Linked DNA regions of Homo sapiens: region 1 is linked to region 2. Evidence: promoter capture Hi-C in human tissues and cell types (Jung and others, 2019). All regions are on one chromosome and are shown on one strand. The core of a region is centred on a gene start or on the middle of the fragment in contact, and the rest is flanking DNA. Distances in the headings are between cores, read along the strand shown. Region 1 overlaps LOC112267858 (a long non-coding RNA gene). Region 2 holds the start of COL1A2 (collagen type I alpha 2 chain).

What was found. Contacts are between HindIII fragments. The study calls those that stand out against the background at their distance.
Region 1: a contact is called between a fragment that was not itself captured here and the fragment with the promoter of COL1A2 in region 2, in 1 of the 25 tissues and cell types used here (aorta).

Annotation. Positions count from the first base shown.
Region 1 is chr7:94,340,113-94,345,850 of GRCh38, forward strand. The region is part of intron 1 of LOC112267858 (a long non-coding RNA gene); the gene reads right to left. LOC107986821 (a long non-coding RNA gene) reads left to right here. Exons shown (of 4, transcript XR_001745275.2): 3 at 3,515-3,606. Among named protein-coding and RNA genes, the nearest start is that of COL1A2-AS1, 49 kb to the right of the region's middle. The HindIII fragment of the contact is 5,169 bases long and covers 1,830-5,738 here.
Region 2 is chr7:94,393,136-94,398,389 of GRCh38, forward strand. It overlaps COL1A2 (collagen type I alpha 2 chain), which reads left to right and starts at 1,760. Exons shown (of 52, transcript NM_000089.4): 1 at 1,760-1,966; 2 at 4,613-4,623; 3 at 5,247-5,254. The coding sequence starts at 1,897. The HindIII fragment of the contact is 19,147 bases long and covers 1-3,154 here.

The DNA.
Region 1 (5,738 bases), core at 3,164-5,663, 50 kb before region 2:
CATCTATAAAGGATTGCATTAGTCAGCTCAGGCTGCCATAACAAAAAGACTGGGTGACTTTAGAAAAAAAAATTAATTTCTCACAGTTCTGGAGGCTGAAAGTTCAAGATCAAGGTCTGGCAGGATCAATTTCTTGTAAGAGCTCTCTTCCTAGCTTGCAGATGCCCACCTTCTCACTGTGTCCTCATATGATGGAGAGAGCGAGCCCTCTGTATCTCTTCCTATAGGAACACTAATCCTATTGGATCAGGGCCCTACCCTTAGGACCTCATTTAACCTAAATGACTTCCATAAAAGCCTTGCTTCCAAATACAACAACATTGGGAAGTAGGGCTTCAACATACAAATGTAGGGGAACATGATTCAGTCCATAGCAAGGTTGTTATAAGAAATCTGAGAAATTATGCAAAGTTCATTATGCCTGGCACATGGCAGGTGCTCAATAAATGCTAACTAATGTTAGCTATAAAATCATCATTGTAATAGGCATCATATCTGAGGTAACTTATGCTTTTTATTTTATATTTTTAAAGGAATGCTACAGATGGAAAAGCCACGTGTTGCCTACTACCCCCCTGAAAACTGCCCAGTTGCTCAGTTATATGGTTTGGCCATGTCTCCACCCAAATCTCATCTTGAATTACAGTTATAAAAATCTTTTTGGGTTGCTATTATTATTATTATTTTACCATTTCACAAGTAAGTAAACCAAAGAGCTTGCCCAAGATTAGGTAACTAATAAATGAAGGTTCGAATTCAAACCATGTCTGACTGCAAATACATCTCTCCTTTATGCCAGAATCATCATCATCCTTAAGTTATAGGGACATGTGAGTATGACTAGGAAAAAATGGGTCAGTAAAACACAAACACACACACACACACACACACACATTGGCACTGATTCTTAAATCAAAGTATTTATTTTCTGATGTCGTTCTTATGAGTATTTGCTTACTCAAATTTTTAAAATCATCTGAAAAATGCCTCTCAATACTGAAAAATTGCTCTACCATTCTAGTCATATGATCACATAATGGGCTTTTTTGTTTAGATTCTAGAGCAGAAGATCTGGGTTGCAATTCAGCATTGCTACTTCTGAACTATGTGATTTTGGGTAAATTGCTTATACCCCCTTAGCATCCATTCTCAAGGGAGCATTGTTGCTTATGTCACAGGGAAATTTTTAAAATTACATAAAACGCAGTCTGCAAAAGCATAGTAAGCTGCCACATTAGCACTCAGCGTCTATATTTTAAAAGTTAATGAAAACGTTGCCAACGTCTCTATTTCTGAATAAGGGCAAGCAAGAGAGACTATAAAGATTTTTACAAAGAATTCTAAAGCCTGAGAATTAGGACTCATTACCATGTAAACTCCAGACATAATCAGAGTTGTTTTCAAGCTTCATTGTTCCAATCTAGTTTATCTCTTTTCTTCCCCAGTTATTTTCATGGGTGTTTCACAAACTATGCAGACTTCAATAACTCACTCTCTAATAATATACTCTGGATAATTGTTAGCTTCATGAAATGCAATTGCCTATACTTTAAGTTATAATTAGAGGAATTACTTAAAGCCTCAAGTGGCCTTTGGAAATCTGAAAATGGAAGCTGAATTTATAAACGCTAGGAAAGAATAGGAAATCCCAGAATCCTAAATCACCAGACTCAAATACATGTGAACTCACTGAGAGACATCCTCTTGCTTTGGTTATAACAACCAGACTTATACTGACATTAACACCAATGCTACAGTTACTAAATGAGAAAACTGAGTTCACAGAGATCAGTTTTTTAATGTACAATACATTTACCGAAGAAAAGTCTTTGTGACTCAGCTGAACAAAGGAAGTGTAGTTTTTAAAACAGACTTGTTGAGGAAGGGGCAACTCTAGTCATAAAGATGGAAAATTAGCCTCTGTGGCATCTGATTCAATGACAATGGTGAATTTTGCAAATTACGTATCTAAGACTTGGTCAGTCTGGGACCATTTGCCTCCATTTCCATAATATTATTGGCTGTTGTCAGAAAATGACTTGAATAGCCATATATAGAAAGACCCATAAGTTGTTGCTATTATAGACAGTTTGAGCATTGTATCGTTTTCTTCAGAGAACTCAGTAATTTGTCTACCTTTCCATAACTTTGTCAGATGAATTCCATCGCACCAACTATTCTAAAATGAAATTAAGATCATCTCACCCCAAAGTCCTGGTCCAAGCTCTACCTTCTTGTCCGTCACTACTTAAGCTTAGTTCTCTACCCAATATATGTATATTAAGATAAACTACTTTTACTCTAACTTTTACCCTTTCTACCTACACATATCATTAAAATGTAAAATATAAGTCTCTAAATGCAGAACTAAGCCTCTCCTCCAATGAACAATAGTGCTGGTTCTTCTTTCAACTAAATTCAAATTAATACACTTTTTAAAAAATAATTTATGGCCCAAGCAGTGTATTTAGGGTCAGATACACTAAGGTGAATTAGCCAGGAACCCTATCCTCAAAGATGTCTACTAAAAGACTTAAATAATACCTCTACTTTGTGAAATGTAAATGGTCTATCAGTTCATGCTGTTCCCATTTTCCAATCAAGACTTGTATTTCTAGCTTTCCCTTATGTTATCTCTGACTACATTACTCCATAGAACATCATTGATTTGCCCACTTGTTTTGGTACTTTAAAAAATAAAATTAGAATCAGATTAATAAAGCAGAAAGTGGCCTGAGATCATTGATTTCAGACCGTGCTGCGGTCTGAGACTCTCATTTTATAGATGAAGAAAATGAAGTCTTTCAATTCTGATAACGTGGAGAATTGAGGAAACATGAACCTGTTCCTGTTCAGCCATATAGAAATACATGATAAAACAGGATGAAAAAGAGTGTTCAATACATAGTCTACCTCCAAAGAAACAAAGAGGAATCCCCAGAGCCAACAGGAGAGAGGGATTTATTCTGGCAGGAATGGTAAGCTCCAAGTAACCCTGCCACAGTTCCTAGAGGTTTGGGACCTCACAATTGGTCAGACCTCTGGCTGCCTCTGCCCTTCTCAGCCACTGTGGGCTGAGGCAATCACTATCTGCACTGGCCGTACAGGTGTGTTGCTAAGATTTCCTTCAAGAAAACTATGCTGGCAACTTAGCTGATTATTAGCTCCAGCTGTCACCTTTGGGATTCATGCTTTCCCTAGCTGTCCCTAGCCCATGCCTGAGCATAGCACAGGGTAGTAGAGCTAGCCCTTTCCTACCTGACACTGGACTCCTCCAACCAACAACCTTTGGTGGAGGAGTTCCCATGAACCTGGGGTATATCGTCTCAGAACTGTGCTGGGGTCTGAGTTTTCCAATCCAACACTCCCTTTCCTCTCTTCTTTCACAGGTGTCAAAATTGCGTTGACATCTCAAGACTCTTGCTACCACATCCTTCTTTCTTTCTCCTTCAGAAGCACTTTCCAAAATAAATTTCTTAAACATCTAATCTCATCTTTCCATCTGCTCTTCCAGAGACCCAAAGTGACACCAAGTCTGAGCACACCATTGGAGAACCTAGGAAGCTCTACCCTAAAGAACTTTCAGACATGTGCACAAGAAGACCTGTAAGCAACAATGTCCATTACAGCATGGTTTGAAATAGTAGAAAAGCAGCAACAACCTAAATTTTCAAGCATAGAGAAAGGGAAAATTTGGGGGTATATTTACTTAATGGTACGGTAGATAGATAAAAAGAATAAATAAAACCAAAAGTATCAACCTGGATGCATCTTACCAATATAATATTAAGTGAACAAAAAATGTTGCAAAAACACAGAAACAATATGACACAATTTGTTTACATTTAAAAACACATAAATAGTACTCTAGATAGTTTTTTTAATTACAAGAATTTGGGTAGCAAGAACACACATCAACTTCAAGACAGCGGTTATCTCTGGGATAGGAAGGAGAGAAAATAGGATAGGGTGGATTTTAACTTTTTCTGTAACATTTCACCCCTTTTTAAAAAGGATAACAACTGTTAAATTTCATTGGTGGATATATGAGTGTTTGTTATAGTATTTGTTGTACTTTTCTGTGTTTGAAATATTTCCAGATATTTCAAATTAAATAACATAAATATATCTTGAAAGAAAAGAAACTGAGGCCCAAAGAAATGAAATGACATGACCAATTTCACATACTTAGTTCATGGCAGAGCAGCTGGTAGGCTCCTGGACTGGCCCTCTGGCCATCATATTCTGTTGTTATATGCCTTTCTAATACACAGAACTATGGTCAATGTGTCTTCGGTAACCTTCACAGTGACTGGTACCATTGTGGGTGCAAGAAAGCACTAGATGTACTAGAGCAAATTGAACAATTAGCGTTCAACCTTTAATGCAAAATTATTTTATCACTGGAATTATACCCCAAGAGAAAAAAGTTCTTGCTGCAGTCTGACTGCTAAATGTTCAGAAATGTGTGGGCCACGCACCCAGCAGGACCTAGTTCCTGTGTTCCTAATTCCTGGCCCAGATCTTGTCCAGAAACACCAAAAACTTTGTGTTAGACATTAAGATCAGCCATCTGAAAACTGTTAAAGTGTGCCTATAGCATGTAGATGATTTCGGAGAGCTTATATTCTTCCTCTGAAGATTCACTTCTGTGAGAGTCCCACCAGCAGCTGTACTCAGGAACCACTTTGTTTAGAATCTGGAAAATTTAACTGACTCCACTCTCTACACTCCAATGGTGAGGTAGGCCCCTTCTTCTCCTGAACAGAAAATGAGGGGCATACTAACCCTCTAGTGGTCCTACAGAGACCAAATGAAGACACACAGTGCCTGCTCTCAAGAGCTACCCAATATACAATAGAATGCAAGGCCAATAACAGCCAAAATGAAGCACCCTTAAATATTTTAAACCTGAATCATGGGCTAAAACCACAAGCAGAAAAGAATGATCAGTATGTACATTTATTAGGGTCATCTTTATATATTTCTGTTGTGAAAGGCAATTATTTTTCTAACTTTAGTAAAACGTAACACATTTTTACTAATTTTGGTTACATAAGAATTTGAGGTGAATACATCCTTGAGGGTAAGCTTTGACTTTTTTATTAGTATACTTTTAAAAGCTGACAAAGGGCTTGGCACATTATTAATGTTTGTTGATTGAATGAAAGGATGAATAAATGAATATAAGCGAAATTAAGACATATTTCTTACTGACAGACACTAATGACTAAAAAAGGCTTCCAACAAATGAGCAGAGTTGACAATTAAAGTGTAAATAGGAATCTAATGAATGTTCTAATTGATCTTCCCTGCTTTAAGATGTAGCCAGAATTTTTTAACCTTGAGATACAATGCTCAGCAAATTAGGAGACTGTCCTTGTGTGACAATCTCTTTAATCAATCTAATAGTTTGTCTACTCAACTACAGACTTTAAGACCTCTGCCAAATTAGTGTTTTGTTTTGTTAGTCTTAGCAAAAGTTATGTCTTAATAATAGATTCATATATGAGGTTTAGCTTGGCACTTTGGACTTCTGTGAAAATAAAGAACATATGTTAAATTGTTTTTTAAAAAGTCTTCAAAGGTAATAAAGTTGGGAGGAAAAAGGAAACTCTCATTCTTTCTTGGTGATTCTACCTACAAGAAAACAATAAACCCTTAATATCTGAATCAGGTTTTAACAAGATTTTTTAAAAAATTGATTATTTCTCTTTAGTTGTGCAGTGGCTTCAAGA
Region 2 (5,254 bases), core at 510-3,009:
GCATTAACCTTTTTTTCTTCTTTTACATTTAGAAAGAGTAACCTGCTTTAGAATAGTCCCTTTTATTTACAGAAGCTGCTGATGGAGTTAACTTCTGCAGAAATTCTTCCTTAAGGCAAAGCAAAAAAAGCGGGGAGGGGGTGGGGGGAAGGAAGGGAAAAAGATTCTCAGGGAACTACAGCCCACTTGCTTCTGTTTCTTAGAGACAGAACTGACCTAAAGATGCCCCCTTTGCGATGACTTCTGGGATAGAGCAGCACTCTAACTAGGCCCCCGCTGCCTCATGGGGACCTTAGGCAAGTAGAGGAGAGGCCTGACACACACACACACACACACACACACACGCACACGCGCGCGCGCGCACACACACACACACAGCCTTTCAAACCTAGGGCCTGGAATGCCATCCCAAGAGGCTTTAGAAAAAGGCACAGGACCTTTGGCCTCCCACCTCAGGGTCAAAGTACCAGTTCCTCCTCTCCCTAGTAGGGAGTGGAGGGTTGGATGGAGGCGGCCAGAGAAGAGGGAAGTTGGGTGCTGGGGAGAGAGTTAACATCCACGTTGGTGGGCGCACTGCTTGGGGTGTTACCAGCGAAGACTACGAAGACCCCAAGCTCGAATCAGAAGGGCCTCTGGATGTGCTAGGGGAGGTGCTTGGGTGTGGCTGTAAGAGATGGGACAGAGAGTAAGCAGCAAGGTCAAGAGGGACCGGGGGGCTCACGGGAGGGTTGAAGGGTCCAGGCTCAGGGTAGAACTGGTAAATCCAGACAAGGAGCCCATGGAGAAGGGGAGGGGAGACTGGAAACCATGAAAGATCCCCCACCGCAGCCTCAGAAAGGAGAGACTGAGAAATAAGTTCTCGGTCTCCAGGTCGGTTGGAGTCGTGTCGGAGTGCCAGACCATCCCCCAAAAGACCCTCTTTGGAATGAGCCTCAGCAAAGGCAAGCTAGGAGGTCGAAGGACTTCCCCAGGTGACTCGGTCTAGTCTAGAGTTCGCAAAGCCTATCCTCCCTGTAGCCGGGTGCCAAGCAGCCTCGAGCCTGCTCCCCAGCCCACCTGCCAACAAAAGGCGCCCTCCGACTGCAACCCAGCCCTCCACAGACAGGACCCGCCCTTTCCCGAAGTCATAAGACAAAGAGAGTGCATCACTGCTGAAACAGTGGGCGCACACGAGCCCCAAAGCTAGAGAAAAGCTGGACGGGGCTGGGGGCGGGGTGCAGGGGTGGAGGGGCGGGGAGGCGGGCTCCGGCTGCGCCACGCTATCGAGTCTTCCCTCCCTCCTTCTCTGCCCCCTCCGCTCCCGCTGGAGCCCTCCACCCTACAAGTGGCCTACAGGGCACAGGTGAGGCGGGACTGGACAGCTCCTGCTTTGATCGCCGGAGATCTGCAAATTCTGCCCATGTCGGGGCTGCAGAGCACTCCGACGTGTCCCATAGTGTTTCCAAACTTGGAAAGGGCGGGGGAGGGCGGGAGGATGCGGAGGGCGGAGGTATGCAGACAACGAGTCAGAGTTTCCCCTTGAAAGCCTCAAAAGTGTCCACGTCCTCAAAAAGAATGGAACCAATTTAAGAAGCCAGCCCCGTGGCCACGTCCCTTCCCCCATTCGCTCCCTCCTCTGCGCCCCCGCAGGCTCCTCCCAGCTGTGGCTGCCCGGGCCCCCAGCCCCAGCCCTCCCATTGGTGGAGGCCCTTTTGGAGGCACCCTAGGGCCAGGGAAACTTTTGCCGTATAAATAGGGCAGATCCGGGCTTTATTATTTTAGCACCACGGCAGCAGGAGGTTTCGGCTAAGTTGGAGGTACTGGCCACGACTGCATGCCCGCGCCCGCCAGGTGATACCTCCGCCGGTGACCCAGGGGCTCTGCGACACAAGGAGTCTGCATGTCTAAGTGCTAGACATGCTCAGCTTTGTGGATACGCGGACTTTGTTGCTGCTTGCAGTAACCTTATGCCTAGCAACATGCCAATGTAAGTGCCTTCAGCTTGTTTGGGGGAGACTGGGTAGAGAGGTTAGATGGGAGGGCACCCTGCCCTGAAAAGGAAAACCTGTAACCTGAATTCCAGGTACACTTGGAGGGCAGACTCTCAGGCATGTGGGAAAACGCCGGAATTGATAAGAAACATGGAAATTACTTTAAAAAATGAAAACATAAAAGCCTTGCCAAAAGTTAGGGAACTTTTCCTCTAAGTTCAGAGTGAGACAGTTAACTCGGTCTGGCTCCTCAGCTTAGTAACCCCCAAAGGGAGCGGAAGGTCTTTTTCCCTAAGGATGAGATATTAACGACCAATGTGGTGGAGGAAGTCAAGGGCCTGCACCCCACAGGCCCCATAACCGCACTGATGTCCACCTTGTAAAACTTGAGGCCTGCGTTAGAAAGCCCTTCAACTGAGTAATGTAAAACTCACCTCCTAAGAGCTTTTATCTTCTGGGCATTGTAAGGCTTGTCCGGAGGAGGAGGATGACGATGCTGATATGATGATGGTTATAAGGCGCCCTCTGGAGGAAGGAAAATGAAAGTACAGGGGACAGGGCCTTAAGCAGATGGAATCCCAATTAAAGCTTCTACGGATTTATACAGATTAATGATCAGCATTTCTGGTTGGAGCCTTTCCCAGTGGCTAGTCAGTGAACCCTGGAAAGAAGAATGGATGCTACTTGGAGTGGGTACATTCTGAAAAGTAATATAAGTGTCTCAATTCACTTTCTAGTCATGGAAATGGTAACATTTTTTAACTCAAATCTGCTCTAAATTTTGTTTGAGCCTGAGAATTACCCCTTTGACATGTTCCCAGTGATAAGCAAACATTATGAACGCAGCAAGTTGAGAAATATCAACATTGAGATGAGACTCAAGAGACCGGGGTTTTTCCCATGAGTCTGACACCAATTTGCTGCGTGACTTTGGGCAAGTCAAACGGCCTTTTCTAAAATGTGAGACAGAGATTAAAGGGACCCCAAGGCCACTTTCCAGCTCTAGGTTCCATGGCCAGACTTTCATGTCAACAGAGAATGAAGAAGATCAGTCCGTTTTCATCTTGAAAATGGCTGCCAAAGTGCTAGACAAAGATATTGACTAGATGGGGGATGGTATTGTCTGACCACACCCAGTACTCCAAAAAGTTGTTCCACCCACACAGCACGGTGTCTACCACTGCATAATTTCTAATGCATTTGTGTGCTTGTGTGTGTGTGTGTGTGTGTGTGTGTGTCTGTGTGTCTGTGTGTCTCTTCCCCCTTCATTCACTTTTAGTATACATACTGTGGATACTAAGGAGTAATTGCAGTGAACAAATTCACATTACCGAGTTCATATTTTTAATGAGATCTTGAGAGTGGGAGGAAAGAGTCGGCTCCTAGAGAATAAAATGAAGGCAGACTTAGGGAAATTTGAAGGTACAAAGGCAACTTACCTTCTGATCAACAGCCAACCACAGTCTGGAATAAATGTTATCAAACACACATTCTTCAAAATGGTCCATGTCTGAGTAATTAAAAGGCAAATTTCCAAAATCATAAGGACTTCCGTTAATCAAGTCAGGCATAATTATTCTTCCTACTGATGGACACAATGAAGTAAACATATCATTCTTGTAATTTAACAGTAATTCTCGTAAATTGCCCTTAAATGTCAGTGCTGGATGTGGTCCACCCTCCTAAATTGTGACTGTTGCAACAGATGTTCTCACTTCAAATAACGCACTTCTTGGCCACCTAATTAAAGCAATTTTTGGGGTGATTCATCCTACTGCAAGCTTGGCCACACTTGTATCCTGTATTAACCTATAATTTTTGTACCGTAGGAGAAGAATTCACTCTTTAAGGACTTATAACAATTATGGCAAAAGGGGGGATAGTACTTTTGTTTATTTTTTCTATTATTTTTCAAGATCTTTAATCCGGTTTTTCCATTTATACAAAACTCTTTCTCCGAGACAAAAATGATACATATTGGTAAAATGATCTTACCTAATTTAAGTGAACTAATTTAAAGCAAAATTCAGATGTCTGAATTAATCCATTTTCATAGTTAATAATGTGCAAATTAGACCTTTTGAAAAAGGATATTAAGAATGGTACAAACTCAATGAAGTACTAGGTAACTTCAATGTTTTATAAAAAAGTAAGTCAGCTTCAATGTTTCATAAAAAACAAATTCAATATAGAATTTTAAGGTAACATACTTTCCTAAATTTTACCTTTTTTCGATATTTAGGTATTAAAAATGATCAAAATCATAAATTATTTCCTCATCAATCTACTAGTCTTACATTCAGCGATTCATCTGTGCACTTTACCAGCTTAATTGCTAAGCATTCAAAATATCCTTCAGACACATTAATATTTCACAACAGTTATAAAATAGTAAATAATTAATAATTTAATTCAAAATACATTTACATATTAATATTGCAAACAAATCACCCTGCTGATCCCTGCCATACTTTTGACCTGCATAATTTCTAGGTCATTAAAATATTCTTAAAAAAATATAATTGGTCCTTAATTAGGTAATTCAATTCTATAAACTTGTTTCTCTATTTGTTAATTATTGCTATTGATCCATGAAGTGATACTAATAATTGTTTCCTACTTTTTCTTTTTTTTTTCTACAGCTTTACAAGAGGTGAGTAAAACTTTTTTTAGAATTTTTAAAAATACTTTGATTCCCTTGGCTACAGTGATGTCTTCTCTTGGAAGGGAAGAAGTTACATTAATATTGACCATCCTAGATTCCCAAGAAAATTGTGAAGAATTATGATAGTCAAAACCTTTCTGGCTGCCTTAGAAAGTACCCACCCAATTTTCCAAAATAGGCGGGGCTACTGAATAAGACTAGGTTTATAAAATATTCATAAGAAATATAGAGTAAATAATCCAATAGAAGTTTGAGTTTTAGGATCAGCTTCTATGAAGCAGAAGATTTCACTGAGCTAGAGAATCTTTTCACTCCTTTGGAATTATTTGCAAAAGCACTTATTGTTAACACATTCTTAGCTCATGAGTTGAATTTGAGGCATAAGTACAGGTACGTATTGCTATGTATTTTTTGTTCTGTAGGTACATATTTTTATTTGACATGTTGGTAAAATTTTAAATTGTAGTTTGAAATATTAAACTGAGATAATAGTAAATGCATAATGTAATGAATTGTGAAGGTATATTTGTATACTACACCAAAATGGAAGCTGTTTTTAAATATATATATACAATTTTCTTCATAATAATCTTTGATTTATTCTTTTCTAGGAAACTGT